Linked DNA regions of Homo sapiens: all the other regions are linked to region 1. The links are contacts of gene promoters, found by promoter capture Hi-C in blood cells and fetal thymus (Javierre and others, 2016). All regions are on one chromosome and are shown on one strand. The core of a region is centred on a gene start or on the middle of the fragment in contact, and the rest is flanking DNA. Distances in the headings are between cores, read along the strand shown. Region 1 holds the start of SLC36A3 (solute carrier family 36 member 3). Region 2 has its middle 26 kb from the start of FAT2. Region 3 holds the start of LOC124901116 (a long non-coding RNA gene).

Region 1 (3,109 bases), core at 602-3,101:
GATTTTACAGCAGCACAAAGAGGTGGTGTGGGGAGTACCTTGGCCCCCATGAGCTTCATAAGCAATCTGTGCAGTCATCCCAAACAAACGTGCAATCAAAGTCCAGTGCTGGTGCTTGCTCTGCAAAAGCAGCTTCAGGACGCGATTTTGTTAATGCCAGTCCCATTCTTTCTGTTACTCATATCAAAAATATTGGAGTCTTCCTTGATTCCTCTCTCTTTTATACCCCACCTCAAGTTCATCAGCAGATCCTCTTGGCTTTATCTTTAAAAGTATCCAGAATTCAGTCACTTTTCACCATCTCTTTCACTACCACCCTGGTTTAAGCCACTACAGACCGACACCTGGGTCACTGCAACACCCTCCTGGATTATTGTAATAGCCTCCTAATTGATATCCCTTGCACCCCTTCAATCTGCTCGCAAAAAAAAAAAAAAAAATGGCCAGAGACATCCTGTCAAAATGTTTAAGTCATGTCATTTCTCTGCTCAGAACCCTCCATGATTTCTCATCTCTCTTAAAGTAAAATCCAAAGTTGTTACAATAGCCTACAAGATCCTGCCCACCCACTCCATCCCGCTTTCATTACCTCTTTAACCACATCTCTGGTGTGACCATGTAATTATCATCCAAACCAGGATATCTCTTTTTATTTTATTTTATTTTTTTTTTGAGATGGAATTTTGTTCTTGTCACCCAGGCTGGAGTGCAATGGTGCGATCTCCGCTCACTGCAACCTCCACCTCCCAGGTTCAAGTGATTCTCCTGCCTCAGCCTCCCAAGTAGCTGGAACTATAGGTACATGCTACCAAGCTCGGCTAATGTTTATATTTTTAGTAGAGATGGGGTTTTACCATGTTGGCCACGCTGGTCTCTAACTCCTGACCTCAGGTGATCTGCCCACCTCGGCCTCCCAAATTGCTGGGATTTTAGGTGTGAGCCACTGAGCGTGGCCTATTTTATTTCATTTTTAGGGTGGTTTCCCAGGCTGGCCTCAATCGATCTTCCCATTTCAGCCTCCCGAGTAGTTGGGTCTACAAGTGTGCACCACCTCGCTCAGCTGCAGGATACTTTTAATAATGAAGGGAGGCACCATTAGTAATTATGCCAGGGCAATAGGCACAAACCAGGCGAATCCATTCTCCTCTGTGTGCTCCCAGATAGCCATATGACCTCATTGCCATTCCTAAAACACCCCAGGCACTCTCCTGCCTCAGGACCTTTGCACTTCTTGCCCCTCTGCTAGGAGTTTCTTACCCAAGACCTACATGAGTTGTGTTCCCTCATCTTGTTCAGCCCTTTGCCCAAATGTCACTTTCTAGGTGAGGCCCTCTCTGATCACCCAATCTAAAATTGCGACCCTCCCCCTAGCTGAAACTCTCCATTACCCTTGCCTGGATTTTCTCTATACCGCTTTTTACTAACAGATACTTGATATATTTGTTTCGTTTATTGTCTGTCTCCCCCAGCCCCTCCAGATTGTAAATTCCATGAGAACAGAGATTGTAGTAAGTTTTCTACCCTAATATATTCCCAGCATGGAGAACAGTTTCTAGCATATATTAGATGCTCAATAAATATTTTCTGAACAAATGATTTTTTTTAAACATGACCTGCACTCCCTTCCAAATCACTGGCAGGCCATACGCCTCCTGTATAGAAATTCTGAGCAGGTGGCATTTGAACTGGGCCTTACAAGCCACTCTTCACCCCAAACAGGGAACATGGTAGCTGGATTATGTTCTGTTGGGCCACATCTGCATCCCAGGATTCTGCTGCAGCTCATTGGCTGGGCAGCCTCCATTGTGAGGTAGCTCTGGTTTTTTCCTTGCCAAAGACAGACAAGCACTGAGCCTGGCCCCACGTCCAGGCACCAGGACCTCCAATCCAATGGTGTCTTCTTCCTCCCAGTCACACTGTTCACTTTGCCCTACAGCAGCAAGGGCTAAACTAGGAGAGGCCAAAAGCCCAGGCAAGTCCTGGTTGGGCAAGCAATTGCGAGTGAAACTGAGGACCATCCTGACTGAGATGGGTCTTTCATAAGTCCCCCAAGAGCCAGGTGAGGCATCATCAACATCAGCCTCTCCTGCCACCACCGCTTCCCTGATTCATGCACTTCAGGCTTCAGCCAGCAGCACGCATCCTTGGGGTTAGGAGCCAGCATCTCAGGTCAGCAGCCATGGTTTCTCTGGAGAAAGACCCATCAGAGGCTCATTCAGAGCCTTAACCCTGAGCCTCTGCCACCTACCCACCGTGTTGAAGATGTCATTGCTTGGAAGGGACTACAACAGTGAGCTGAACTCCTTGGACAACGGACCTCAGTCACCCTCAGAGAGCAGCAGTAGCATTACTTCAGAGAATGTCCATCCTGCTGGAGAAGCTGGACTATCGTAAGTGGCCGCACCGCCCTTCCAGGCCTGAGGTCAAGCACTGCTGTTTTTGCAACTCTGGACTATGTCTTCCTTCATCTATCTCCTTAACACGCTTATTCCATTAACACGATATGCGTGGATAAAAGATGAAACCTTCAGAATCTAAGGAGGTCAATCCCTGTGGCTCTGGCTACTAGCCCTGTTTCCCAGTTTTTACGAAGAACCCAGCTAGAGCAGCCACCCTCAACATGAGCAGCTTGTCTCCAGGAACAGTTTCCTATCTCAGGCTGTCTGCCCTTTCCTTCCTCCCTTTCTTTCTTCCACAGTCTCTGGCTGCCTTCTTCTCCTCACACATCTGCCATTATTCTCTCTGCCTCTTCTCCCCAACCCCCCATGCCATCCATCCAGAAAACAAAAGGTGCTAACCCCATGTCTCCACCTTTACTGCCCCAAACTCAGACACATGGAACTCTTCTCTCTTTTTTTTTAATTAAATTAAATTTAATTTAATTTTAAGTTCCAGGATACATGTACAGGACATGCGGGTTTGTTACATAGGTAAACGTGTGTCATAGTGGTTTTGCTGTACCTATCAACCCATCACCTAGGTATTAAGCCCCATATACCTTAGCTATTTATCCTGATGCTCTCCCATCCCCTGCCCCCCACCCCCAACCAGCCCCAGTGTTTGTCTTGTTCTCCTCCCTGTGTCCATGTGTTCTCATTGTTCAGCTCCC
Region 2 (3,444 bases), core at 326-2,825, 310 kb before region 1:
GGGCTTGTGTCCCAATCACAGACAATCAATATTCATCCTGGGACTTTTGCTTGAGTGACAGAGAGAAATGACTCACTCTTTTCTCAGCTGAACAATAGCCTCGGAGAATGTGAACTTAGAGCTCCCAGGGACCACCAGGTGAGGAGAAACTACCTGATAATTAAGTAAATGCAAAGGAAAATAGCCAAAAAGCAGAGAAGGGTGATCTCTTGACAACGCTGTTTGCTCATTTGGCCTCATACTTAGACCTAAGGACAAACTCTCCCTGGATATGAGTCAATTCATTTCTTTTATTGTCTCCTTTTCTTCTTTGGTCCCTTTTTCTTTCTATCCATTTCCTTATTTTTGCTTAAGCAAGTCTGATTTGGGTTTCTGTCACTTGCAATCAAATTCCTTATTAAGACAAAAAAAAAAAAGAAAAATAATAATTACTGGGCAAACAATGTTAGTTACTGACCCAATATCCATTTCTCCTTCTCACTAAAAAAACCCTGGTTGGGAAATGAGAGCAGGGAGAGACAATGTGTTAAGTCCCAGGAGAGATGGAATGGTGGTGAAAGTTAATCACGACATCCCTGTTTCTTGTTTTTCATGATTCTTTGCAGCTGGTGGTGGCCGTGTGACCTAGTTCTAGACTGTGAAACATAGGAGCAATCAGCTAGGAAAGAAAACATATGGGGCTTCTGGGAATGTAGACATAGCCAGCATCACCCCATCTCCTTTCCCCTGCCTTGAAAGTGAGTGTGATGTCTGGAGCTTCAGCAGCAATATTGTGTTTATGAGGCAGAAGCCAAAAGAACTGCAGTGACACCAGCCCTAATATCACTGAGCTACTGAACAAAAGCCAACAGCTGTCTGCCTGTGTGTTTCTTGCAATATAATACAAACAAAAACCTATTTGTTTAAGCCACTGTTAGTGGATTTTCTATTACTTGCAGGTAGCTCAAAGCATTCTTTGAAAATGAGTCAAGTACTTATCTTGCAATGTCATTGATCCAAAACTCAGACTAAAAAAATAGCTAAGAATAAAACAAATATTTACTGAGTAGCTAAGATTACAATCCAGTGTGCTAAGTGCTTAGTTGCATGTAACTTTACATTGAGCTGCAATGACCTTATGAGGCAGATACTACTATTAGTCCCATTTTATAGATTGGAAAACTCAGTCATAGAAATATCTTGCTCAGGGCCATACAGCTAGTAAGTGCTGAAGACAGAAAGGCTTCTGACTAGCCGCAATGGTTTCTACTATGTACTTGACTCATAGGAGAGTCCCTTGCTCAGATATTACATATCCATTTTATACCCAATGCAGACATGTAGTTATCTAATAGATGCACTGTCATAAAGAAGACAGAGAGAGAAGGGCCCCTGGAATAATTGACGGCTGACAGTGTCAATGAGAGAAGATTAAACACAAAAAAGAAAAGCTTTGCCTTTCAGTGAGAGGCAAATAGTCTAAAATATCTTTGCAGCCTTTGAGGACACCTCCGCTTTAAAACTTAATTCAAACGTTAATGTTTTTGTGATGGTCCTGAGTCATCAAGGAAAGATGAAATCATGCTTCGCATCTTGTTTGAAAAGGCAGGGAAGCACCTAGTAGAACTACAGAAGGTTCCCACCTGAAATGGTTACAACGAAAGAAAAGTTTAATGCATTGACCAACACTGCCTCTTCTCTGACCCCCTCCGCAACCCAGCTCTCTGGAAAAATAAGCTTACAGAATCCTTCCTTCCTCCACAGGCCCAGAAGGCCAGGGTATTAGAAGACTGCATTTTTCATCACCATTTCCCCAAGATGTTCCCTTCCCAAGACTGTAAATGTCCTCCAGCCTGTTTTTAGCAAAGGTGATCTGAATTATGATGCCTGGGGGTTACCGACAGGCACTCACAGCAATAGCATGAAGCCCTAACGAACAAGGCCTGGTTGGGACCTCTGCTTGCTGCCTAGCTGGGATCATAAGTAGACAGAGAAGGAGCTGAGAGGGACGATTACATTGATCCAATATCTAGATGGGCAGGGGGCAACTGAATGAAGAACTCTAAGGTAAAAACCACACCATGCTGAGTCTGAGTGTGCCTTTTGATATCCAGAAGTCTGATCTGCTCTTTTATCAGATAGGGAAACTGAGGCCCAGAGAGGGAAAGGACTTACCCAAGATCACAGAGCAAGGTTATGGCAGAGCCCAGAGCTTTTGTGTCTTGACTTCTGACCAGGGCAGAGGGGGACATTGAGCAAAAGCCCCTGAGGGTCAGGAAGATCAGTTCAGACTTGTGTCCTGGAGCTAGGAAGGAATCAACCTGAATGAAGCTCTTCTCTCCACTGGGCCTTTTCTTTGGGACTCCTGGAGCTTCCAGGGAGCTGGTTCAGGTGGGGACGTTTCTGATATATTCATTCAATAAATACATATTGAATGTCTGCTATGTTATCACCATAGTAAGAAAATAAGAAGTGGTGACTGTTCCCCACAGGGTCAACAGTCGAATGTAGTGGTGAAGATTATAGGCACTGGGCTGAGTGTGGTGACTCACACCTGTAATCCCAGCACTTTGGGAGGCTGAGGCAAGTGGATCACTTGACGTCAGGAGTTCGAGACCAGCCTGGCCAACATGGTGAAATCCCGTCTCTACTAAAAATACAAAAAAAAATAGCTGAGCATGGTGGTGCACGCCTGTATTCCCAGCTACTCGGGAGGCTGAGACAGGAGAATCACTTGAACCTGGGAGGCAGAAGTTGCAGTGACAGTAAACCAGGGATAGTGGCAGGCACCTGTAATCCCAGCTACTTACGAGGCTGAGGTAGGAGAATCGTTTGAAACGGGGAGGCGGAAGTTGCAGTGAGCCAATATTACAACACTGCACTCCAGCCTGGGCAACAGAGCAAGACTCCGTCTCAACAACAACAACAACAACAACAACAACAAAAGATTATAGGTGCTGGAATCATTTGGCCCGGGGCCAAGCATGGGGACACCCTGAGCTACACAGGCAAGGACATCCATACAGACCCTCAGGCAGAACGATGTGCATGTTCACTCACAGTGACACAGGTACTGTACACACAGGCACAAACACATAGACACATGTATAAATGTGTCCACATCAGACACACATATACATATCTCACACAGACACAGGCATATATAGGTACACAACATGTGTATATACACATGCATGTGCGCACACACACAGAACCTTCTTATATTCTCCCCCCATAAGCAAATTGCAGTCTCAGCAATGCTAGAAATGACATCTACATATTCTCCTGGAAAAACAGACTTCCTAAATGCTGCCTGATTCATGACCAGGGGTGCCTGAGTCTCTCCCCCTACATCACCCGCTGCTCTACGCATTTGGTGAGGAGAAGACAGAACGCAGGGTCTGAGCCACTCCTGCCTGATTCATTCCTCTCTGGGGCCACAGAGTTTTCTCTTCCCTGCTTAGA
Region 3 (3,195 bases), core at 488-2,987, 350 kb before region 1:
AAACAGGCCAAAGTCTGTCCTGCCTCCAGGCCTTTGCACTCGCTGTCCCCTCTGGAACTGCACTGTTTCCCCAGCTTTAGTCCTGCCTTTTCTGCACCCTCTGCTTCTCAGTTCAGATGTCTCCTTCTCAGAAAGGCTTTGCTGCCTGCCCCTCTCACTCCCATCTCTCCTTCATACCAATGACCACAAGCTGTAATTATTATCTTGTTTATTTGCTTTTGTTCCCGAACAACTTTCACCCCCTCCCAGTCTGCCCCACCAAACTACAAAATGTAAGTTCCATGAGGACAGAGACCTGGTGTCTTCTGCTCATTGCTGTGTCTCCAGGTCTGAGCACTTGATACATACTAAATGCTGAGCAAGTTGTGTTAAGAAAATGAATTAACTAATGAGAGGTTGGCAAGTCCAGAGTAGAAAAAGCCTGGAACCTAGGGATAGGACAGATGGATACTGGAGTCTGAGAAACCAAAAAGCTTTCAGAAGAACCCTGATGGGGCACAAGAATGGGCATCAGTTTTCTGAATCCGAGAGCACATGGATTTCTGTTCTCATTAGATTGGAGGTCCCAGAGTTATTAGACTCCATACCTCCTTTTAATAATAAATGGAGACATAGATAATGCAGTAGACCTCAAGTCGTAGAGCCATTCGTTGTGATCCTTGATTCATGACTCACTGTCATTGGTTGGTCTTTGCATGACTCTCTTTTGCTTTTATCTATCAGTCGATCAATCAATCTATCTGCTACCTATTTATCTATCAATCATCTATTTACCTATCAATCATCTATATCTGTCATCTATCAATTGTCTATTTATTATCTATATATCTATCTATTTATCATCTAGCCATTATCCATCAACCTGTCTATCTATCTATCTATCTATCATCTATCATCTTTCAAATAATATATTGAACACCCATGAGCCTGCCTCCCCACATGAGAACTGGAACAGTGGCGACACCTATGTTCATTCTCTATCCTGTCCGCTCTGTGACCACTTTCCTGAATTTTGTGTTTATCTTTCCCTTATGGTTTTTTTTTTTTTTTTTTTTTTTACGGAGTTTCACTCTTGTTGCCCAGGCTGGAGTGCAATGACACAATCTCGGCTCTCCGTAACCTCCGCCTCCTGGATTCTCTTGCCTCAGCCTCCCAAGTAGCTGGGATTACAGGCACGTGCCACCATGCCTAGCTAATTTTGTATTTTTAGTAGAGACGGGGTTTCTCCATGTTGGTCAGGCTGGTCTCGAACTCCTGACCTCAGGTGATCCACCTGCCTTGGCCTCCCAAAGTGCTGGGATTACAGGCATGAGCCACTGCGCCTGACCTATCCTTCCCTTATGTTTAACAATTAATATAATTCCCACATTTTCTAGTGATTAGGAAAAAATAATAATAAATATCACAGCAACATAAGCAAAAACACACCCACACATGCACCTGTATATATCTAAGCAATATGTTGTATCATTTTAGGTAATTTTAAAATTTATAACAAATGCTGTGTTTTTACATTGATAAAACACTTATAAATAATGTCCTGAGCCCTGCCCTTTTCACTCAACATTGCATTATGAGTTCAGGCTTATCCATATTGCTGTGTATAGCATATTACATTCATCTGCACTGCTGTATAAGATTTTGTTCGTGTTTGTACCACAATTTATTTATTTTCCTATTTATGAGTGGTTGGGTTTTCTTCTGTCATGAATAACTGCTACACATGCATTTATGAGTTTCTCTGGGGCCTATCTGCTAGGTAAATATACATCTAGGAGCGGAAGGAATTGTGGGGTTGTAGGAGTATCAGTCAGGGTCTAATCAGAAAAAACAGAAACCACTCTATGGATTTTCAGATACTTTTAATTTTGAAATAGTAACAGATTCACGAGAAGTTGCAAAAATAGTACAGAAAAGTACATGTACCTTTCCCCCATTTTCTCCTGATAATAATGTCTTAGATAGCTATAATACAGTATCAAAACCAGGTCACTGGTATTGGCACAATCCACAGACCTTATTCAGATTTCACCAGGGTTACATGCATTTGTTTGAGTATGTACATAGTTCTATGCACACATAAAACTTTATTACACGTAGATTTGTATAACCACCACCACAATCAAGATACAGAACTGTCCCGTCACCACAAAGATCCCTCTGGCTGCTTCTTTTTAGGTACACTGATTTCTTTCTCCAACCCCAACCCTGTCTTTAACCCTTGGCAACCACTAATCTGTTCTTCACCTCAATAATTTTGTCATTTCTAGAAGGTTATGTAAGTGGAATCATATAGTATGTAACAATGTGAGACTGGCTTTTTTAGTTGGTAAAATTCTCTTGTGGTCCGACAAAGTTGTTGCATGTATCAATAGTTTTTTCCTTTTTATTGCTGAGTAGTATGGTAATCAATAGCTGAGAAGCCTCACAGGAGGCAATGAGGCAATCCATAAATTAATAATAGCAGGAAGCTGTTACTACCCCTCCCCAGGACTAGAGAAACAAAAGGTTAGTGTCACCAGAGCCCAGGGCCAGGGTCACCTGGTAGAAGTTAGAATCATGGCTGGCTTTCCTGTGGGAACTGGACCCATCGGAGAGCTGTGGCCACCACAGGGGATGTTACCTGAGAGGAGAAGGGGAGGGTGCTGGTGAGAAACACCTTGGCTTCTCCCTTCTTTCCACCTTCCATTCTCTCTCTTTTATTAACTGAGCCCAACTGGAAGCAAGATGACATGGCTGCCGAGATCCTGCTGGAAAACTGAGGACATAAGGGCATAGCAAAGAGTGGATCTGAGGGCAAACAGACTCAGGACCTGCACAGCAGCCTATGTGAGTGTTTGATTTTGCAAGATAATGCCACACTTTTTCTAAGTGAGTGTCCTATGTCCTAATGCGTACCCTTATAAGCGATATGTAAGAGATCCCATGGATCTGTATGTTCTCCAATACTTGGATTGTCTAGCTATTAACATTTTGCCATTTTAGTGGACATAAAAGCTTATCTTATTGGGTCTTGATTTACATTTCACATGAGTTTGAACATCTCCATATGTTTGCTGGCCATGAGCATTTCTTCTTTTATAAAATGCTTTTTCTTTTGTCCATTTCTTTCTGTTGTTTTTCTTCTTTCTTGTTGATTTATAAGACTTCTTTATATATTCTTGGTAATAAACCTTTGCCAGTTGTAAATGTTGC

The links. The method cuts DNA at HindIII sites, captures the fragments that hold promoters and counts their contacts. A CHiCAGO score of 5 or more calls a contact.
Region 2: a contact is called between a fragment that was not itself captured here and the fragment with the promoter of SLC36A3 in region 1, in 1 of 17 cell types (M1 macrophages). The highest score is 6.3, in M1 macrophages.
Region 3: a contact is called between a fragment that was not itself captured here and the fragment with the promoter of SLC36A3 in region 1, in 2 of 17 cell types (M0 macrophages and M2 macrophages). The highest score is 8.7, in M0 macrophages.

The regions. Positions count from the first base shown.
Region 1 is chr5:151,302,508-151,305,616 of GRCh38, reverse strand. SLC36A3 (solute carrier family 36 member 3) reads left to right here and starts at 1,851. Exons shown (of 10, transcript NM_181774.4): 1 at 1,851-2,390. The coding sequence starts at 2,263. The HindIII fragment of the contact is 21,144 bases long and covers 1-3,109 here.
Region 2 is chr5:151,615,674-151,619,117 of GRCh38, reverse strand. No RefSeq gene overlaps it. Among named protein-coding and RNA genes, the nearest start is that of FAT2, 26 kb to the right of the region's middle. The HindIII fragment of the contact is 286 bases long and covers 1,433-1,718 here.
Region 3 is chr5:151,654,100-151,657,294 of GRCh38, reverse strand. It overlaps LOC105378231 (a long non-coding RNA gene), which reads right to left. Exons shown (of 2, transcript XR_944417.3): 2 at 1,846-3,195. LOC124901116 (a long non-coding RNA gene) reads left to right here and starts at 2,790. Exons shown (of 2, transcript XR_007059007.1): 1 at 2,790-2,829. The HindIII fragment of the contact is 2,524 bases long and covers 476-2,999 here.